Linked DNA regions of Homo sapiens: region 1 is linked to region 2. Evidence: promoter capture Hi-C in 16 types of primary human blood cells and fetal thymus (Javierre and others, 2016). All regions are on one chromosome and are shown on one strand. The core of a region is centred on a gene start or on the middle of the fragment in contact, and the rest is flanking DNA. Distances in the headings are between cores, read along the strand shown. Region 1 overlaps UNC80 (unc-80 subunit of NALCN channel complex). Region 2 holds the start of ACADL (acyl-CoA dehydrogenase long chain).

What was found. Contacts are between HindIII fragments. The CHiCAGO score rates a contact against its expected background, and 5 or more counts as called.
Region 1: a fragment that was not itself captured here is called in contact with the fragment with the promoter of ACADL in region 2 in 10 of 17 cell types (activated CD4 T cells, megakaryocytes, total CD4 T cells and 7 more); the score reaches 7.9 in activated CD4 T cells.

The regions. Positions count from the first base shown.
Region 1 is chr2:209,982,478-209,987,228 of GRCh38, reverse strand. UNC80 (unc-80 subunit of NALCN channel complex) reads right to left here. Exons shown (of 65, transcript NM_001371986.1): 61 at 2,317-2,373. Among named protein-coding and RNA genes, the nearest start is that of RPE, 18 kb to the left of the region's middle. The HindIII fragment of the contact is 466 bases long and covers 1,624-2,089 here.
Region 2 is chr2:210,222,175-210,227,333 of GRCh38, reverse strand. It overlaps ACADL (acyl-CoA dehydrogenase long chain), which reads left to right and starts at 1,887. Exons shown (of 11, transcript NM_001608.4): 1 at 1,887-2,147. The coding sequence starts at 2,071. The HindIII fragment of the contact is 4,947 bases long and covers 185-5,131 here.

The sequences.
Region 1 (4,751 bases), core at 607-3,106, 240 kb after region 2:
CTTATTTAGCCCACTCCATCCAACTTACCCCTTTTGTCTAAAACAAATGTCCTTTCAAAAGGAAATTCTCATGCAAGTTTGGTAAAATGTTGTAAGAGCATGGGAGCAGCAGAGTTTATTATTTTCCCTTAGATATGCTTCCTGATATTCTCTAAGCTTTAAGGCCAGATTTTCATCAGGACTACTTTGGGTGTATTTTAGGTCCTCAGTGTTGGAGTGTATGTTAAGCGTCATTACCTGGTTAATGCCTTACTACTTCAGGATTTTAAGAGTCTGCAGCTTAAAGGAAGTTCATGCCAAAAATAAGAAAGTCTGGAAACTAAATATAAAAAGTATATATCCTATTTTGTAAACCAACCTCCTAGTAAATGCCAAAAGTTCCTCTCCTCCAAAGAGAACTTGGTGACGTGATGTAGTTCAAGAGATACAATTTGCAGGGTATGGCAAAGGTGGATGTGCTACTGGTTGGTAGAAAGCCTCTGTGCTATTAGAATTATTTCAGAAGCCAAAGTGAATGCCTCATCTTCCCATTTCTTAATGACCACAACTGGGTCTGGGTGACTCACACCCAGAACTAAAACACAATGGTCACAGAAACAACGGATCAACGGCAGTTGATCTAAGACAGTCATCAAAGTACTACCATGACTGACTAATTCAGCTGTAGACAAATCAATAGCTTTGGCTCTGAACCAGTCTCACCTACCAAAAACTTTGTGTATATTTCCATTGACACTGGAACCAGGACACACTGAATTGGTTTAGAAAACTACAAATAGGTCCTCTGAACCCTGAGCCTACCAGAGAGGGCCAAATACTTGGGAGAGTTCATAAAAACAATCTCAAACTCCTGCCTTCTCTCACCAATCCTTACTCATCAAGAGTAGAATTTGGCCTAATTAGAAAAGCCCCAGCACAAAGCTAGCTAAGTGGAAGTCTGATTCAATACTCTCTACTCTCAGTAGGCCACTGAAATTGTCTTCTAATCAAGGTTCCCATCACACATGTAATTTTAAACATTAAATACCTGCTTTCTTTGAAAGAATGAACACTCTGCTAGACTTGGTTCAGATCTCTTCCAACACCGTGAATAAAGGGAAGCCCTCTTGAGGACTGTTTTGTTTCTCAACTTCCTCCTTGCCCCCAAAGCTCCTGCTAATGGAATTAAGTCTGCATTCTGCAGCACTTCCACATTTACCACCAATAAGAGACTGATCTGTCAAGGCAAGGGCTGGCAAACACGAATGTCATGAATTATGGGTCTGGTTAAAAAAAAAATACACCCGATGATGGACTAAATTTCCCATTTTCAATTGCAAAAGAAAATGTGAAATCTGAACAAGATGCAAAGAAAACAAAAGACAACCTTTCACAGGAACAGCCTCTCAACATTTCCTCATCTTTGTGATAAAGCAATAAACACGGGTGTATTGTACTCACTAGATAGTGCAAACCTGAAAGGGAATGTTATCTCTTGAGATGGCACAAAGATACTCTAAGGATGAACAAGAAGCCTTACCCCTAATGAGGATTAGTTGAGAGGTGTGAATCAACAGCACAAGATTAGGAATGTTTGACGTGGTTTATCTGAGTGTTAAAGGTGCAGTCCCCTTTTCTGAAGCTTTAAACCAATAGCCAAGACATTACATTATTTGCATCATAAGACTTCTCTTACTTACCAAGAACTGTTTGTGTCTGATATTTCATGCAAGTTTTGGAGTCACCTTTGTGCTAGAACAGACATTCTTTGTATAAGTGTTGCTGGAACAAGCTACTATAGAAGTCTGCCCAATAGCATGCATCAAAGAGAAGGAATTATAGTATATAAATTGTATCCACATTACTATTCTTTTTATAACATCATTGTCTATTTTCTTACAATCAATGGTATTAGCTAAAAGACCTGTCTTGATTTAATAAGGGGCTTCTTGATGATGTATTAAAGGGCCTCTGAAAAACAATTCTTAATAAATATCAGTGTGGGAGGGAATAATTAGATGGGATAAATTTAACATTTGGCATACCAGACTTTTTAGACATCCGTGGGAAATGCCCCATAAAGAATTCTATAATTTTTTTAAAGTAAGCTTTTCAGGCTTACTTGATTGACATTGAGCTCTGAAGCTGAAAATGAAGGAGGGTTTGCTACACCTTTGACTTCCAGGCTCATATGTTCATGAACAACAAAGGGCAAGGAATGGAAATAGATATTAAGACGGGGCGAGAAGAGACAGAGAAGACAGAGAGACAGAGGAGACAGGGAACAGCTAGTTTCCCAGCACAGACACCAATAGACAGGTAGCATTGACACTGTACCTAGAGAGGCTGCCCTCGGCGGCCAGGCCCTGGGAGTCATCGAGGACATTAGGTTCACTGCAGGAGGGGTAGGGAGATGAAGCATTTAGGGAAAGAAAATGAAAAAAAAAAAGAAAAAAGAAAAAAGGCATGCAATTTTCTGCTTCCAAGAACCAAAAATAAATAGATTTAACCGAACAAGGAAGGAAAAGGAGACAGTCAACCATTTCACCTTGTGCTGGGTTTGTCAAGACATAGGACTCAAGGCAATGGGGGAGGAAGGGCTTTGGATGGATACAACTCTCAGAGGAGTAACCTATTTATTGGTCAAGAGTTAAAATGAACTCCGAATGGGCCCATAGGCTCTGAAACACATTGCAGAATGAATCTGTAGAAGATGAAACTACCATTTCCTTTGGTAACCATTTGGCTAGGTGGTGATTATTTTTAACCTGTCTTATGTACATGGTGTTTCATTGACCAGGACCCTGCTTCTTTCTTGTGCATTCTAACATTAGCACACAGAAACCACTTACCATGAACTGCCACAACCAAGCTCTTGGAACTGATGCCATTAAGAAAAGTAAAGAAAGAACACAACTTTCCCTGCTAATTTTGCAGTGAAAATGCAAGTAAACAAACGGAAGGAAGATATCTTAGAAAATTCACATGGAACTCGCATTTACCTCCTTACTCTCCATCCTCTAGTGACTGAATTGTAAATGCCAAAAGAAGAAACCTGTCAGGTTGGTGAGAGAATAATTAAATTGTTTATCGATTGATTGATATGTATGTAGCTGAACTGAGATTTGTGAACAGAAACTGTCATGCTTTATCTGTCCTTCCTTCAGTGCCTAGCATTGAGCTAAGCATCTGTGAGGCAATAAATACTCGTTAAATTGGAGAGAACTAAACCATTTAGAAAACTGGAGTGCCTGGCCCCAAAGAATTGAGGCTCACCTAAAAGTTCACTATAAAAACAGCCTCTGTCCCTAGGAAGAGACTCACTTTCCCTTATGTACAGAGACAGTATTATTACCTTCGCTAGTCTTCCAAAATATGAATGAAGCCCAAACTATTTAACTATATTATTTTTTCTTGATTTCTAGAAATCAAGAAAATGTACAATCAAGATATGTATAATAGGACAAATTTTCTCCCTGCAAACAACTTGACCCCTTAATGAATATGTAAAAAGGAAATTGATGGCCTGGTTATTTTAGGTAAATAACAATGAAAAACCTCTTTATGAAATTTCTACAATTCTATAATTTAAATAAAACTTTCAAATAATTGATTTTTAAAAATATTCTTCATAGAACCATGCACATTGCTAGCAATTAAAAATAACTGATAGCTACCAATATTAGCTGCTTGTGTGGCTTTATATCTTTTTTAGGACATGTTATTGTTTGGCTTTGATTTTGTTCACACTTTTTGTGTATAAGACTTTCTTTTCAAAGGAAAATTACCAAATGGTAGGTAAAACAATTTCTTACAATGATACAAACCTTTATATAGTATTAATCTTCGTAATAATTAAATGGTACTTATATAAAACATTGCCTTCTTAAAAAGTATGCAACTTGTTTATTAATGATTTATCATTTTACCCTATTCTTTGATATTCTCCAAACTTGGGCTTTATTTCACAAATTTTATTTCATCTGTGTAGTTCACGAACCATTTGCGAAAGGATTTGGGTACAGGGTAATTATTCCTACATATAAACTGGTTTTATGTGAACATCAGAATATGCCCTGAATTTTATTATTTTCCATGTCTGAATTGTACTACAATGAATCTATAGGTATTAAAAATAAGCAACACACTAAAATCACATAAGGTCAATTCCTTGAAAAACTCAATTCCTAAAGTGAAAATATCATTGGTTCCAAAACATTTATCTACTTAAGATAAATGTTTTGACTCATGTGAGATCATTTTCATTATACTTTCATTGTGTGTGTGTGTGTGTATATATATATATACATGGGAAGTTTTTTTTTACTTATATTCTTAAGAGACAGAGAACACACAAAATATTTAAAGGGGTTTTGTCATGGAATCATAGAACTATAGATGAGAAGTTATCTTAAAGATCATTTTAGCAAACCTCTTCATTTTACAGAGGGAGAACTGTGGATTACGGTTAAATGACCTGCCCAAGGTCACACTCAGTGGCATAGATCCTTTTCTGCTTGGTTAAGTGTCACTACCTACAACTGAATACTAATAATATATCAGAAGCCTAAACTTTACCAAAAACATAAAGATGGTCCAAACTCTTGCCAAGTACCCATCATTAGCTTAGCTAATGATAAATCTGAAATACAAGAATGCCATTTGACAACAGAAAGAAGACCATGTGTCTATGGAAAATTTTTAAGGAGAGACAATACTTGGAAATTGGGATCCCTTCTACTAGCTTGGCTTAGAAAACTGCAAAGTGTTGC
Region 2 (5,159 bases), core at 638-3,137:
GTATACAATGACTATAAAAAAAAAAAAAAGGAGAGCCCTAGAAGATAAATTTTATAACTTTTCTTTTACTTTGAGCAGTTTTTCCTTATAAATGTGTATGATTAATATTTTGGTCATATTATATTATAGGTATGGCTCATAGAGAAGCAATTTAGAAGCAGATTAGGGTTTGAAGTTGGAAGCTTAAACAAATCCATTCTTAATCCTGACAATAAAGTTTACTGTCAAAATTGTTGGTTACAGATACTTAAATTGCTATTTATTTTTTTAAAGAAAATGTTCCAAAACATAAAACAGTAACTAGTTTTGAGACCATTGTCCTCTATAAGGGAAAAGAAAATATTTCAGACACATTTAACAGATGCCAATTTCAGTTTCTCAATTATGTCATCAAGGTATTCTTCAAACCAAATATAAAAATATATATATAATTTCTAATCACTCACTTTTTATACATTTATAAACAGGCAGATACAGATACAGATACAGACACAGGCAGTTATTTGGGTTAAAGAAGCTGGCATTTTCATGGGGTTTAGAAAGGACCGTGTAGTCCATGACATTTACTACCAGGTATCAGAGGAAAAGCATAAGCAGTTCCTTTTCTTGAACATTTGCCTTCTAATTGAATAGGCATTGGAATACACAAAGTAGAGGGTTTTTTTAAAGGATTTGTTCTTTCTTTTATCTACTACAAAATATGAGTATTTCTCAATGATGACAATAATAATTACCATTTATCGAATGTTTATTGTATTCCTGTCTTTGTGCCAACCACCTGACCTCCGTTATCTGAAAAATCTTTCCAACAACCCTATGACATAGATATTGTTATTCTTCATTTACAGGTGAGTAAATGGAGGTTTACATTTGTATGGAACATGTTCTGCTACTTGAGATAATGGGAATAGGAGCCTAGGAGGGCTAAAAGCAAGGAGCCAGCAAGTCTAGACACATTCCAGAGGACATTATGTCAGTCATGCAAGCCCTGCCTCAGCTTTCTTCCCAACCCTCAGCCTTTTTTCCCAACAGTATATAAATAATGTGGTGTTCCTTTCAATACAGGTGTCTCTAATGCTAGTTTGTTCCATTCTTGGTGAAGTTAATTTGAATCACATTTGGTTAGCATGTTTATCAGTTTTTTTCTACTGAGTTTCCTTTTGTGAAGTAAGAACAAATATGTTTATGAATGTAGAGTTAGCTGTGCTAAAATTAAATGAAAAGTCAAGCAAACTACCCAGATAGTTTAAGCCAATCACCCAGGATTTCATGAACCCTTTGAGCCATTTATGTTTCCCTTGAGGGATATTTCACATCTTTTACCTGAGAGTTCTACAGGGCATGCTTTTATTAGTTGAAATGTCACTGAGGGCGAGAGTAATTGTTCAACGGATGTACTTGAACTTGGACATTTAAGAATTAACAGAACGGGCTGGGCGCAGTGGCTCACGCCTGTAATCCCAGCACTTTGGGAGGCCGAGGCGGGAGGATCACGAGGTCAGGAGACCGAGACCTTTCTGGCTAACACGGTGAAATCCTGTCTCTACTAAATCCTGTGTCGGATTAATTCGTTCTACTTGCTATTACCAATAAATAGCATGGGCTCCCAGAGCTATGCCTGGCTAACTCTATCACCTTCAAGGGTTTGCTCAAACTATTCAGCCTACTTTAAGTAAATCAATTTCCAAGGTTACAAAATAAACTTCACGTACATTTTTATGGTTAGGTATTTGCGCGTATTTGGGGGCTCCATAGCTTTCATCCGTTACTCAAAGCGCTTCAGGACGCTAAAAAGGCTCAGAGCTGCTTCGATAAACAAGAAAGAATGCTGCAAGCAAAGGCAGCAGTTTCGCTGTAAAATCCTATTGCTGACAGCCAAGACGGGCGTATTCCCTCGCGACCAGCCTGTGGCGTGGTTGGGGCTCCGGAAGGGCGCGCGCGAGCGCTTTTTTGGGAGGACACCACAGGTGGACGCCTCAGCTGATCGTCCTCCCTCCCGGGGACCCTGCCCCGAGTCGCCGAGTAGCCGCAGAGTCGCCTCCGTCGCCCCGCCGCCCCTGTGTTTCGGACATGGCCGCACGCCTTCTCCGAGGGTCCCTACGCGTCCTGGGCGGCCACCGTGCGCCGCGCCAGCTGCCCGCCGCGCGGTGAGTGCCAGCCGGGACTTCCGCGGCTGCAGGCCGGGAGGCTGTGGGGTGGGGCAGCGAGTCACTCCTGTCGCTGGCTTGAAGCAGGGCGGTGCGCGCGCGGCTGGGAGTGCTCCCCAACTCCGGCGCCGGGCTAGAGCTGGCCTCCTTTCCTGGATCCCGCGGACTGGGTGCAACCAGCATCTGGGCGGAGGAAAAAGGGGTGTCAGCCGTGCCGCCCCGAGAACAGACCGCCGAGCCCACGTCGGGGAAAGCCGAAAGATTTCTCCAGAAGTTCATTCCGGAGCCCCAATCCAACCCGTCTAGTTCAGCGGCCTGCAGTGGGACCCGGGAGCCTGCGTTTTGGGAGGAGGTGGTCACCCCCTGGGCCCGGCTGCAGGAGCGCGGGCTGCGATCTGTGTCCCAGTTCGAGCTGTGAACCCGGCGTTCCCCACGGCTTAGACTCGCCGCGCGGTAGTGAACTTGGGACCCGGACTCAGTGCCCGGGCTGCGGCGCGGACCAGAATTGTCCAGGACAAACTGGGCTAGAAATGACCTGGCGAGGGTTCCATCAAACAAGGAAATTAGCTTTAGATATATCAACAAATCTAACTAAATACAGAGGATTAATGAAGACAGAGTCTAAGTAGTTCAGTGACTACTAAGGTGGTGTTTATAATATGATCAAAAGTTTCAGATACTGTCTGATGCATAAAATCTATTCACTGGGTAAACAAATTGGAAGCATGGAGAATTCATTATTTAATAAGGGTGAAGGAACTGGCAAATTTGCGAATGACAGCATTGGTGTAAGCTACTCTAATTTTATTTGAGAGCTATGAAACAAAATGCCTACTTTTCCTGGGGAGATTTGGGAAGACGTCACTGAGAAGGTGACTTTTCTTTAGGATACATACTTAACTCTTCCTTGGAACATTATAAGACAGTGATCCTCAAACTTTTTTTTTTTTTTTTTTTTTTTTGAGACAGAGTCTCACTCTGTCGCCCAGGCTGGAGTGCAGTGGCGCGATCTTGGCTCACTGCTGCAACCTCCGCCTCCCGTGTTCAAGCAATTCTCCTGCCTCAGCTTTCCTGAGTAGCTGGGACTACAGGCACGCACCACCACACCCGGCTGATCTTTTTAGTAGAGACGGGGGTTTCACCATATTGACCAGGCTGGGCTCAAACTCCTGACCTCGTGATCTGCCCGCCTCGGTCTCCCAAAGTGCTGCCTCAAAACTTTTTGATAACAGGGCTCCCTTATGCTCTTAAACAGGACCTCAAAGGACTTTTGTTTATGTAGGTTATATCTATCCGTCTGTCGTTATCGAAAGGTATCTACATAACTGAGAAACTTTACAGATATTTAGTTTATTTAAAAGTTACAATAAGAAGCTCATTACATGTTAACATAAATAACAGTTTTTATGAAAAATAACTTTTCCTAAACAGAAAAAAAGTGAAAAGAGTGACATTGTTTTACATTTTTACAACTCCCTTAATGTCTGGCATAATAGAAGATAACCAGATAACTATATCTGCTTCTGTTTTATCCATTGGCGTAAGTTAGTTTGATTGAAGCATGGCAAGAAAATCTACCCTCAAATAGAGAACACTGGAAAAAGGGAGACCTGAGAGACCCTCTGAATGGGCTGGGGGGCTACAGTTTTGTTGTAACAGCTTTTTTACCTTTAATGTGCAAAGGAATCACCTGGGAATCTTGTTAAAATACAGCTTCTGATTCAGTGGGTCTGGGATGGGGCCTGAGATTGTGTATTTATAACCAGCTTCTAGGTGTGTGGAAGGTGCTGGTGGAGATTGTCTCCCTTTTAAAATGTAGGAGACTTTAAAAAAACAATAATAGCCTAGCCAATAAGATTAGTTGCAGTTTATTGCCTTAGAGAAAAAAATGCCAATTTTTCCATTACAGATTTCTTCATCTTTAGACTGAGAAATACATGTTGCAATAAACTTGCTGCCAAGTGTTTTGATTTTCTTCCCTCTGCATATTCTCTCTTGACCACCTTTGACTGACCTGAAAGTCTTTATTCGTTTGGCATTTCTTTTGCTTTCCTATGTCTTTATATATTTTACTTAAAAATATTGCAGAGATTTCCTTAACACAGTACAGGCTATTCAATTTTAAGATCCAGTAAGACTCGATTTTAAATTCTGGCTCTATTGTTTACTCATTATGTTGACAAATGATTCGGTGTCTTACAGCCCCAGTTTCCTAATCTCAGCATATTTTTTTCCTGAGGGAAACTCTCAAGTATGGAAAATCTATATGGACAAATACGTGCTTTATAATTTTATCTCTACTAGCAAGAAAAAGGAGCCGATCATTTCCATTATAGGGATAAAGTAGATGTTAGTTTATTTGATGCAACAGGACAATGGTCAAGGTCCCCTGCATGTCCTGGTCCCCTGTTATCTCTTCTTCCTAGAATCTCTGGCCTCATCTACTCTTCTCAGCCCACTCTGGCTACAATTGCCTCCTTGCTCTTTCTAGAACACATCAGACACCATTCAGACATACAGCCTTTGCTCTAGTTGTTCTTTTGTCCTAAAATTCTTTTATTCTAGAGGTATGCCTGGCTAACTCTATCACCTTCAAGGGTTTGCTCAAATCTCACCTTTCTGGTTTAACCTACCCTGACTGCAGCACTTTTTTTTCTTTTCCTTTTTTTTTTTTTTTTGTTTGTTTGTTTGTTTTTAGTGACAAGGCTCACTATGTTGCCCAGACTGGTTTCAAACTCCTCAGCTCAAGCAATCCTCAGGCCTCGGCCTCCCAAAGTGCTGGGATTACAGGTGTGAGCCACCAAGCCCCGCCTACTACATTATTTCATACGGCAACCTCTGTCTCTGCCTCCCCCCAGGCACATACTCCTGATCCCTTCTCTACTTTTCTTTCTCCATAATACTTACCACCTTCTAAGGTATTATACAATTTGCATATTTATAGTTTATTGTTTATTCAGTTTCCCTTTGTTAGAATGTAAGCTTAAAAGCCAAGATCTTTGTCCTCATCTT